Linked DNA regions of Homo sapiens: region 2 is linked to region 1. Evidence: promoter capture Hi-C in 16 types of primary human blood cells and fetal thymus (Javierre and others, 2016). All regions are on one chromosome and are shown on one strand. The core of a region is centred on a gene start or on the middle of the fragment in contact, and the rest is flanking DNA. Distances in the headings are between cores, read along the strand shown.

Region 1 (6,307 bases), core at 2,962-5,461:
ACCATCTCTGAGTACCGTGCTGAGTAACAACGGGCCAAATTTAGCAGCTAAAATGGAGAGGGAATTTCCAACAACCCGTGCAATGCCACATATTCTCAGTGAAAAGCAACTACTAGAAATATACTATCCCTTACCCTCCTAACTTAAACTGTGCCTCTCTGCATCATCACTACACCTGGAGAGGGAGCTCCTCTAAGGGAATGTCTCAGGAGATGGCTGGTGGTTAGAAGAGAGAAAGATTCCCTCTTAGGCCAGAGGTAGCACAGCAGCCAGCTATGGCTTCTGCAGCAGTAAGCTTTCAGTCGGGAAGGGCCAGACACCGCTCCCTCACTTCCCTCCCAGCATGGGTATTGCTACTGTAAAGTTACCACGACCACTAAAGTTGGTTTCATTTCCCATCATGAAACACCCTAGAAAAAAAAGGCTGTCTCAGCTTACTGCCAAGTTGGACAAAAGCAGAAGCTCAAAGAACAAGGCCAGAGGCAAACATGCCACCTTTCCTTCAGAGGCTGGGCTGTGAAGGCCACAAGGGAAGCCCACTGTGGCTCTTCACGGCCCCGCTCCGGCCTTGACACCCCGGGCAGAGATCAGTCTTCTCCACTCAGGGTTGGGCCGGGTGCCTCACTTGCGGTTCCATCCCCAGAAACACTTACCAGGAGACTGTGAAGCACACAAAGCCGCATTATTGGGAGACTTGCAGACAGATTATAAATTTACTGGGGACAATCAAGGCATTTAGATACTTTTGGCTACAGATGCTGGTGACACACACATACATACAAACCTCATTCTTCTCTCCATTTGAGCGATTCTTTACCCCCCTCCTTTACCCTAACATCTCTTTTTTCACAAAACAACCTCCCACTGCTTTCCTAGGGAATTCCAGGGAGAAGCGGGAATAGAGCAGGTGGTAGAAAAAGGATATTAGGCTTCGAAGCTCTAATACAACCCCACAAGCTAGTGCTGCTATTCAAGGGTAAAACTGTAAACCCTGTGCAGTTTAACTGTTGGTAGTTATTTTTCATCTGGAGCTGGCCTCAAGGAGTCCCATTCCTAGGTAGCCCAAGTAAATGTGCTTATGGCTGGGGAGAAAAGCACCATCCTACTCCCCAGAGATTCCCAGGGTCTTCGTCACCATGGACCCAGGCCAGGGATTAAGGGAAGCCAGAAAGAGCCATCCTGAGCGTCTGGCCAGAGGATGTCCTCTCCCGAGAGCTCAATATCAAGCTCCTTTGGAGGAGCAGTTAGACACAATAGCACCATCTCCTTTGGGCTTTTTGAGTACTTTGGGGCTTGCATGGCCATTTCCTGTCGCTTTTGCTAGGGCTGACCTGGGTAAACTGGAGCAGACATAGAATCCAGAAGTCCCATGGAGCTCCAAAAGGGAGGAAGCCTGCAGGGCCACAGGGCAGGGTTCTACCTTCCACCAGAGGCCACTGGTCCAGCAGCTTTGGGGGGAAGCCTGCAAACAGCAGGCAGTCACCTGACCAGGACTGGCACTGAGAATCAATGATCCAAGGGATACTCCTCTGGGATGGTGTGTGTCTGTGCCTCTGGGGAAGAACTTCCAGCCAGAAACTTAATCAGAACTTTTGGGTTTGATATCCTATCACCAGGAGTGGCTGAAGACAAGGTATTTCCTAGGATGATGATCTGTGTAAATAGCTGCTTCGTGCCTGTCTGCTTAACGAATGCTCTAAGGGAGCATTACTGGATTGGACTGGAGTGCTTGGGAAAATAATCGAGATGTGGCTCAGGAGTGAGAGAGTCTAGAGGGAATCAGAGAGTAGGCCTCTTAAGAAACAGTGCCTCCCTAGTCTCTCTTTGGGATATTTTCCCCAAATTTTGTTTTTGACTGAGGGGACATTCGGGGAATTTGCTATTTGTTACAGCTTACCATTTATGTTCTCTTAAGCGAAGAAGAAGGGGGTCACTTCAAAAGGGAGAGGGGAAATGGGGCAAGGAGAAAAAGGCTTTAATAAAGGCCAGCTGGGCTGATAAATGCTTTGGGGCTGAAAAATGGCTTGGGGGCCTAATCAGAGCTGGCTGGCCAAAGCTGGAGGATCCATGAGATAGAACCTTCCTCAGTGGCTCAGATCTTGCCAGCTGGTAGCCTCTTCTTTTATAAGATGTGGACCCCAGAGAGCCTCTGGAAAACTCAGGCTTCTTATCAGTTAAGGAATATCCTATAAGCGAAGGAAAACCCAGGAGTGAGCACCAACAGAACATGATGAGTAGGCGCATGAAACCACCCGAACACACCCAATGGCCTTTAAGGTAGTCAGGTGACATCTTGGCCTTTTTCATTGCCATCCACTCTACCTTAGGCCAAAGCAAACTCTACCCTCACAAAAGGTCACAGGACCACAGCCAGAACCATGAGAAAGCCAGGTGCTTACCGCAATCAGGGCTGAGTTCCTCTGGTCCCCTGGGGTTGAAGCGGGCGGCTGCTGCTCTCCGTTTATCCCACCACTGCCACCATTATTGCTACTGTTCAGCAGGTGCTGCTGGTGGTGATGGTGATAGTCTGGTGGGGGCGGTGGGGCTGCTGTTGCTGCTGCTTGGGAGGCCGCAGGAGGGGCAGCAGGGGGCGGTGGAGGGGCTGTAGTGGTGGCAGCAGTGGCGGTGGCCTTGGTGTGTTTGCCAGCTTTCCTTGCCCCCTGGCCATGCTGTACAAGGCTCAGGAGCTGCAAGGTGCTTTCTCTTTCCCGGTCTGAGCTCTCGGCCCTACCTCGTTCATATCGTCCTTCACAGCTCAGGTGGTGTTGGCGGCAGACAGCGATCCGAGCCCGGAGGCGCTCCACGATAGCACTGTGCACTCTCGGGGTGACTGAGCCCCCTCCAAGGAGCCCCGCCCCAGAGGCCCCCCCTAGCCCTCCTGCGGGGGCCTGCGGGGGCGCTGTGTCCCCCATCTTACCGGACACAATGATTGCTGCCTCTGGGATGGTGAGGTGGAAAGAGGCTACTGCTGGCTATTGCAGGCAAGTCTGTTTTTGACAATGTGAGCTCAGTGTTCAGGGCCACATGAATAGAGGTCTTCAGAGGTTGTGGGGGAGCCGTGGAGAAGTTGTGGGGGAGGGGAGTTAGTAAAAAGAGGGTGGGGAGAAAGAATAGAAACCAACTGGGGGGAGGATAAGTTGGAAACAAACCCTGATTAACTTACTCTAATTGCATTTGACAGCTCTGGAGAAGTTGGACAGAGTTGGTGGATTTTTTTTCCTCCACCAAGCTGACAAGAGCCACTAGGTACTTTGTAAACACACGATCTGGGGGTTAGATCAAGAATTCAGGGATTGTCCAGCAAGAGACAGAAACACACAGCAAAAGGTATTGAGAGAGGTATTAATAGAGAGGACTCCCCCTCACCTAGTTGTTTCCGACAATTCTTTATGGGGATGTTTCTGCAGAGAAACACATTTCTACCATGTCTATGTAACCAGCAGCCTTGACTTTTCCTCAGGTTAAATAAAAAACCAAAACAAAACAAAACAGTGCTGTTTCAGAAGATGTTTAAGTCACTGTTCAAAATGTGCAAAAATCAAGGGAGACTGTCTTTTGGCTTTTAATTTTTCCTCCCTTTCCTTTCGCTCCGGTGTTTTCTCCTCTTTGGGGTACTGTAGGATGTTGTCTTCTCCCAAAAGAGGGAGACAGCTTTTCAACTGTTAACAATGTCAGTAATTGGACTTTTGGACCATGCTTTTTTCTTCAGCTAATCCAATCACCGGTAAAATCCTCACTCCCTCTAAGGTTTCCTAGCCTTAAATGAAAAGCAATCTTAAGTCGCTAGCCACTGAGAGAGATCCTTCAACACATTTTTTTCTTTCCCGCTTACGTTTCTATTCCTCACCCCCGGCTCTATTCTAATACAGTATCAAGAGAGACAAACTCTTCCGAGAGTAATTTACAAACGATGGTCAAACTTACAAACTTCCAGCAAATTGCACCGAGTCATGTCCAGCCACTTTTCTGTCCACTTTTGTACATTCCATCCCCGGCCAGTGGATCTGAGGGTCTGGACTCGCAATAAGCAATCTGGTTCTATCTCCTGTATTTGCTCCGCTTTATAGATGGAAAAAAAAAGTAGCTTGTATTTTCCTTTCTCTTTCTCGTCTGTTGTTAGCCGCTTTGCTGACACTGGCTCGCGCCCGGAGTCACGGCGATACACAGGCTTTCATTGTGCTCCGATAGGAGAGGGAGAGAAAGAGAGAGAGTGAGACAGAGAAGGAGAAAGAGAGAGCCAGCAAGCTGCAGATGGGGGTGGGGGGGCGGGGAGAGGGCGGGAGAGCTCGTTCGAGGCTCCCTGGTGGAAGGCTGGTGCCACTGCGCGAGTGAGTAATCGCAGCCAGGCACCGGGGAAAGGGGAACGCAGAGGGCCTCCCAGTGGCTGAAGAGGTAAATCCCAAGCCCTGCGCATCTCAGCTGCCCTGGCTCAGCTCAGCATCAGACTCGGTTAAGCGGGGAAGGCTGGGGAAATTCCCCAACCTCTACACAACCATTTCACCAGCTCTAAATGTTTAAGAAATTCCGGGCCAGGAATGTGTTTTCCCTTTCAGCCCTACATTACGCCCCGCTGAGGATATCATTTTCATTTTTCAGTATATTGTAAATGACACCACTGAGCAACCTAGCACGAGCTGTGTGAGCACCGAGGAAATGTTCATTAATAGAATAAGGAAGATATGAATGTGTGTGTTGAGGGCGGAAGGGGTTGCGCGTGGAGAGGAGAGGTAATCACATTGTTAGCTCCTAAAGGGCAGGCAGGTGTAGCGTTTGTCTACCTGCCTGCCCATTTGTGTGTCTCTGGATAAGTGAGTCTGGGTGATCACAGGCAAATCAGTTGGGATAAATAAAATATTTTATGAGAATGATACAATTATCGATACCAGTTCTAGAAAAAAACGCTTTTTTTTTGGGAATGCATGATTGCCTATGAAAAACCAAATATAAGACCTGAAGTATCCTTAGCTACCTGGTGCACATATACAATGAGGAAAGTCAATGTGTAGCAGCTGAGTTTCAAAAAGTTTTTTTTTTTTTTTTCTTTTAATGGAGTCTTGTTATGTTGCCCAGGCTGGAGTTGAACTCCTGGGCTCAAGTGATCCTCCCACTTGAGCCTCCTGAGTAGCTGGAACTACAGGTACTCACCACTACTGCACCTGGCTCTGAGTTTCAAGAAGTTTAATAATAGAAACCAAATAGATCTCACACAGATCATTGTTCCCCCATTTTCAAGTGATCCAACCTTTAAAATATCCAATCCTGGCCAGGCACAGTGGCTCACGCCTGTAATCCCAGCACTTTGGGAGGCCAAGGCAGGTGTATTACCTGAGTTCAAGAGTTCAAGACCAGCCTGGCCAATATGGTGAAACCCCGTCTCTGCTAAAACTACAAAAATTAGCTGAGCATGGTGTCATACGCCTGTAATCCCAGCTACTCGGGAGGCTGAGACAGGATAATTGCTGGAACCCAGGAGGCGGAGGTCGCAGTGAGCTAAGATCACGCCACTGCGCTCCAACCTGGGCAACAGGGTGAGTCTCTGTCTCCAAAAAAAAAAAAAAAACTTATTGTGGATTCTGCTTATTTTCAATTATGAAGATTAAATTAAGGTGAGCATAATACTGCAACAGTCAGGACCAAAAATATTCTGGGTATCCTAATTTGGAAGTCATTTGGATTTGAGGTCTCAAATAATATACCTTCAGTAATCTAAACAAACTCTGGCATTTCACGAATATGGTCGTTTCAAACTGAGCTATGGATAGAAATAGGCAAAATCAAGGCAAACATCTCAATACTGGATTTATTTGCAATTTAGTTCCCTATAGGATAGCCTACTTTAGTCCATTTTATTTTCACCAATCCTGTTAGCTTGGAAATGGGGACAAATACACTCAGATTTTTTGTTTGTTTTATAATTTCTTTTATTTCTTTTTTTAAATTTTATTATTATTATACTTTAAGTTTTAGGGTACATGTTCACAACGTGCAGGTTTGTTACATATGTATACATGTGCCATGCTGGTGTGCTGCACCCATGAACTCGTTATTTAGCATTAGGCATATCTCCTAATGCTATCTCTCCCCCCTCACCCCACCCCACAACAGTCCCCAGAGTGTGATGTTCCCCTTCCTGTGTCCATGTGATCTCATTGTTCAATTCCCACCTATGAGTGAGAACATGCGGTGTTTGTTTCTTCGTCCTTGTGATAGTTTGCTGAGAATGATGGTTTCCAGCTTCATCCATGTCCCTACAAAGGACATGAACTCATCAATTTTTATGGCTGCATAGTATTCCATGGTGTATATG
Region 2 (5,922 bases), core at 3,423-5,922, 1.2 Mb before region 1:
GGCCGGGAACAGCAATCCCTACGCCTTCGGTGCCTTGGGCCAAGAAACCCGGGTTCCAGGTCCACCCTGTTGCGTCCCCGGAGTTAGCCTGCCTCGCCCCTGTCGAGCTACAATAAGAGCCTGGCGATCTGCGAGCCTTCACTTCATGAGCTGCAGGGCGGGAGGTCCCCTGTGGGAGGAGGTTCTCCCTGCATTTCTGAGCAGACATCCGCAGTGTTTCATTCCTGAATGGTGAAGAGCTTGATACAGAGACCCTGGAGACCGTTCAGATCCGCAGAAAGCCTAGGCTGGGCGCTCACAGGCCTTCGTGCAACTTATTGCCATAGCACTCATTTGGAGGTGGGTAGGTGGGCATTTTCATCCCCATTTTACAGAAGAGGAGATAAACCCAGGGGGTGAAGAGACATATGGAAGACTACCCAGTTAGTAAGATGGGGCAGGTCTCTGTCTAGAAATTCACTGCCTTTTCTACTAAGTAAAGCTTCTCTTCTGCAGAGCTCATCCTAGCCTGAAAATCCTTCCTCTACCACGGCGTTGAGTAAATTCGATCTGCGGTTGTGTTGAATTAGAACAATGAAATAAAGATACAGATTTTTAGAAACGCAATGGGGTAGTTAAAAATGATAGGGAAACATTGACTACCTCCAACTGATGGAAAGATAAGCCAGTTTTTCCTGACTCCTCATATCTATATTATCATACCACTAGGAAATCGTGTCACCTCTCATGGTGTTCTGTCCCGTCTGGTAAAGGTGACCAAACACTTGAGAAGCCCTCAGAGTCTTCCGAACCTGCTGGCCTGCTCTTAATACCTCTCCTCAGTTGGCCTCCTCTCTAGAACACCCTGCCAGACTCCCCTTTGCCCTCTCACCAGCCTCCCACCCCTGCCCAGGCTGCTGGGGGAAGAACTGACCCAACGCTCTCCCTTTCCTGACGGCCACAGCTGCCCAGGACCACACCAGTGGACAGGAGGCTGGCTTTCAGGTGCTTTATTCAGAGCCTGTGGGTTGTAATCTCATTCAGATATTTCTAGCTCTGAGGTCTTGGCCAGGTCTCAAACAATCTGCACCTAGTTTTCTTATCTTCCTCACATCCTTCCACCTACCTCAACTGTTGATAACACTTGTCGAGATCAGGCATGTGAAAAAGACGTTGTCAGTTGCACACACAAGACACATTTAAATCCAAAATTAGTTTTCCACCAGCTGCACCCCTAGAGCTCACAGGGTGTTCCCCACCTCTCATCTTGCATTGTGATTGTGTGCCTGCGAAGAAAACAAATGAGCTAGTTCTTTCCCCTTGATCTCATGGACAGCTTGGGGAGACAGAACATACGTCTGAGGAAATCATGGGAATGGATGCTAAACAAATTTCAGTTAAATTCAGAACACATTTAGTGACTCCTGCTGTGTGCCAGATATTTGGGACCAAGAGATCTGAGTGCAGTTCTGGAACAAAGGCTACCTGATCTGCAGGTGGAGTTTGCTGGGTGGAGAGGTGGTGTAGTATCTGATTAGAGCCATGCTATGTGGGTTCATATCCTAGTTGCTCCACTGACTAGCTATGAACTTGGGCAGGTTAAATTGGAGATAATAGCATAGGGTGGTGTGAAGATTTAATGAGTTACCATATATAAAGTTCTCAGGTGTGTGACACATGAGTACTAAGTACTAGCTGTTGCTATGACCTAAGCAAAAAACCATAATTTAATAAAGGTGAACAAAGTCCTATTAGATTTAATCTGTCTTTGAGGTGATGGAAGCAAGCCTTAGGGTCAGGATGACATTTCTGCTGTGTGTGGAAAGATAAGGCAGAGTTTAGAAGGGAGGCAAGGAGGAGGACATTTCAAGCAGAGGGAACAAACATCATGAGTGAGAAAGGCATGGCAGATTCAGGGATTTGTGCGTGAAGAAGTTGGAACAGGTAAACTAATACAAATAGATGAATGCACTCAATTGCTCAGAATAAAAAGGAATCATGGAAGGGAGGGATCAGGTGGGGAGGAGCCACCAAGGAAGGCTTAGGGAGGCAGAGCCATTTATGCAGCTAGGGAAGGAGTGAGTCGTAAAGGAGCATAGTTTGACAGAAAGAAGTACAGGGAACCAGGTAACATGGAGACCCTGGGTGAGATAATGAGGAAGGGGACTGTGGAGATTAAAGAAGATGGGAAGGGAGGGTGGAAATAGTTACAAATGGCAGCTTGAGAGGTAAGATGTACAGCGGTTCTGAAGAGTACAAGGGGCCTGAGTTCCTGCTGTGCTGAGAGGTCAGAATGGTCACTGTGGCTGAGCACTGCAGGATGCTTTTCCCTGCAAGGTGGCTGGCCTCCCACATCCACCCGCTCGACCTCAAGTCAAGTCAGCCAGGATCCAGAGAGTATTGGGAGAGAGGGAGGGAGGAGGAGGTGTGAGGTGCAGCTGGGCCTGGAGTGCACTGCAGCAAACCTGCCCCCACTGTTGCCTGCTCCCTGAGGCCCTGCCTCCCAGCCAAGATCCCCACTGCAGAAAGATGCTCAGGGCTCAATGTGTACCCTTGGCGGCTTCCAAGCATTTTATAATGCTGAGTCTCCTTGTACCCACATCACCTTTTTATGAGGTCAGTGTTACCAAGAGGACCCGCACACAGGGGAGGAAGAGGCAGGAGACCAAAGGAACTCAGTGCTTGCCTCCAGTGATGAGTCAGGCAGGGCAGCAGTGACACTGAATTCCCAAAGCCCAGTTCGGCAGCTTTTGAGTCCACACTGCAGTTTCCCTTTGAAAAGAATCTCCTAAGTCAAAGATCACAGAAACTTAGTCACTCTTGTGCTGAAAATCTGTAAAGTGTTGCCTGCCCAGCCCCTACAGGACAAAGTTCACACTGCAGAATGCAGTTTACAGGCTCTCCATAGCCTAGCTCCTGTCTCCAGCTCCAATCTAGTTTCTCACCATGCTCCACCCTCATATTTTATGTTCTAGCATTATCCAGCTGCCTGGAGTTCCTCTCATAAACCAGACTGTTTGTGATGTCTGTTTCTTAGCTCATGCTGATTCCCTTTGCCCAAATTCCCTTTCTACACAGACCCCATCTTATCCTTCACTTCCTGCCCTTACTCCATCCTTTAAGACTCTGCTGAGGTGTCACCTCCTCCAGAAAGAATTCCCCACCTGAACTGTATCCACCTCCCAAGTTAGGTTCACCCCTTCAGTGCTCTTATAGTTTTTCTATTTTCATACTTACCATGTTGTTTTGTAATTATCTGCTTATGTATCTGTCTCCCCAACTTGAGCCCTTGAGGAATGATGATTGCATCTTACTCATTCTTTTCCTAGTGCCCAGCTTATAGAAAGCACGCGATAAGTGTTGAATAAAATAATTTGATGTTGGGAGGATCAATCAGGCAGGAGCAGGTGAGATGTTCTGCTTCAGTTTTCTCAGTGGGGCGCTTCCTGTTTCAGAAGCTTGCACCAGGGCTGGCCAGCAGCAACTGTTACAAACATGCTCCCTATGCAGAGCTGGAACCCTGCTCTGCAGCCACTCCATCAGTCTTAGCTTTGGCCTTTGAAACTATCCCAAATGATTTTGATCTCTGCTCTGCCTACAGGAGATGGTTTGGAGGAGTTCTAGTCAAGACTCCAGAAACCTGAGAACTGGATTCTGGTTTAGTGCAGGAAGCCTCAAACCTTTTAGTTTGTTGACTCCTTTCCACTTAATGGAAGAATTTTTAGATAAGATGCCAATGATACCTTTCTAAAGTGCATTGCTGATTTATGCCAGAAGCCAACATATAAAGCTCTATCATTTTATAAACATGGAAGGAACTGAATATATAAATTATATAATTAATATATTATACATATTAATTATATAATATATAATTTATATATTCAGTAACAATAGTGTATATTTGTTCAATCTTAAAAAATACTGTGAGGTAGATATTATCTTCATTGTAGAAAGGAGGAAACTGGCTAAGGGAGGTTAACTGAGGTGTTTTAGGGTCACACAGCTTATTTTTGAACTCATTACTGATTACTCTTCTGATACACTGTGGAGATTCTTTGATCTCACAATGGATCCACTGCGCTAATGGTCTTAGGACTCTAATTTTCATCTTTTATGTGAGAATTCTAATTTCTACTCCACTTCTATTTTCTGACAGTCATAGGACAAGTGGGAGCACTTACTTGGCTGCATAAAGGTTGCTCAAGTGTCACTTTACTCTGGAATGAAGGGGATATTCTGGTTAACTGCAAAAACATTTTCCTGGAGGGCACAGTGAGGTCTTACTTCAGATCTTAGTAAATGCAAATGGTTGTTTCAAGTTAGAACCTTGATTAAGTCCTTGATTTTTAATTTCCATCCATGGCTTATACAACCTGAAACAGAAATACTGTTCAATTTGTTCCAACCTCAGCCTTCTTTTCATTGTGTCAGAGAACAGATATATAGAGCATCATACACTTAAATCTCTGTGTAAGGAATGCAGTGAACAGGACAATCCTGATTCTTACTCCTTAATTAAGAGACTTAATTCAGATCCCTGCTCTTCCATTTACAAGCTATGTGACTTCCAGCCCCATTTTTTGGATCTGTTCATTAAAGGTTGTAAAAGTGTTTATAGAGAGGTTGTGACAAATAAACAAGATAACACATGAGAGCATGTGGCATGGTACCTGGAATATGGTAAACTCTTAGTAAATATTAATATGTATATAAGGTGTTACTTCAGTAGGTGCTAGGCGTGTGCACGCACACACACACACACACACACACACACAAATGGAATGTTGGATTAGATAGGTGACATCTACAATTCTGCAAATCTCTCCTAAAAAGTAAAATATCTATCCATGTATCTTCTCAAATGCTTGGTGTATGTCCCACATTCATACAGTAGCTGCTTCATAAATGCATGATGAGAGATGAAATGTGTGGAAGATTGAATGAATGGATGGAGGGTGGATTTGAGTGATTAAAAGCAAAAACAAACCAAACAGGTACCAAAGACATCTCCACCCTCTCTGTCCTGGAAAACCAAGAAGTGTGTTGTCAGAAAACAGTGAGCAATGGCATTCCAGTCTATTGTGCTGAGACTGGATAAGACTGGGAAGTGCCTGACCCAGGGGATGGTTCCAACCTTTGTTGAATTTTTCCCTTCTGGCTTTTTCTTCATCTTTGGATTTAGTGTTTCCTTTTGTTTTGCAGGCCATTCTCAGGATCAAGTTAAGGTATTTACCTGCGTTGGCAGAATATTTCAGGGACATCTGTCCTGAAGCAGTCCAGTGGTGACAATTCCCTATACTATTCTTTCAGTTTAGACTTATATCTGGACAATCTAGGCAAGGAACTATCATTTATTGATCCCTTACCATGTCAAAGGTCTTCACATTCTAACTCATCTCATCTCTATAACAACTCTAGGTATTATGACTTGTGTTTTATAGTTTAGGAAACTGAGGTTCGGAGTAGTTAAGTAACTTATCCAAGGTCAAACAGCTTCTAGATGGCAAAACCTGGACAGGAGTTTATGACTGCCCAAATCCAAAGCTCTTAACTCTCTTTATTCTCTATCACACTATTTTCTAACTAAAATGTTAGTTTTTTCTCTCCAGAATCCAAACTGGCTGACTAGACTTGTTATTTTATTTTTAATCCAGTTCTTTGGATGGTTTATGGTTTCACTACTAACATACCATTCTGTATGTAAATGCCAGCTTCAGATTTCTTTTAGCTCCGTTACTGGTGATTCATGGTGATTGAATGGAGCTTTCCTTAGGGAATTGAGATTTTATTCTTTGGGCATAAAATTTCTCTTCCTTTTAAACTCTCATCTCTGAAAGTGAAAATTTTAGAAAGTAAATCCTCTTATTTGCCAGTAGCATTTGTTTTCAGTTATCTGGTCTATCTTCTAGAATTACTGTTAGTCAAGAAAGCTTTTTTTTT

Evidence for each region. The method cuts DNA at HindIII sites, captures the fragments that hold promoters and counts their contacts. A CHiCAGO score of 5 or more calls a contact.
Region 2: a fragment that was not itself captured here is called in contact with the fragment with the promoter of MAML2 in region 1 in 1 of 17 cell types (total B cells); the score reaches 7.0 in total B cells.

The regions. Positions count from the first base shown.
Region 1 is chr11:96,338,984-96,345,290 of GRCh38, forward strand. MAML2 (mastermind like transcriptional coactivator 2) reads right to left here and starts at 4,212. Exons shown (of 5, transcript NM_032427.4): 1 at 2,400-4,212. The coding sequence starts at 2,912. MIR1260B (microRNA 1260b) reads left to right here and starts at 2,455; the gene lies at 2,455-2,543. RefSeq lists silencers at 282-576, 2,829-3,088, 4,206-4,395. The HindIII fragment of the contact is 8,013 bases long and covers 294-6,307 here.
Region 2 is chr11:95,090,315-95,096,236 of GRCh38, forward strand. The region is part of intron 1 of ENDOD1 (endonuclease domain containing 1); the gene reads left to right. Among named protein-coding and RNA genes, the nearest start is that of ENDOD1, 3.4 kb to the left of the region's middle. RefSeq lists an enhancer at 2,611-2,905 and a silencer at 2,611-2,905. The HindIII fragment of the contact is 2,475 bases long and covers 3,436-5,910 here.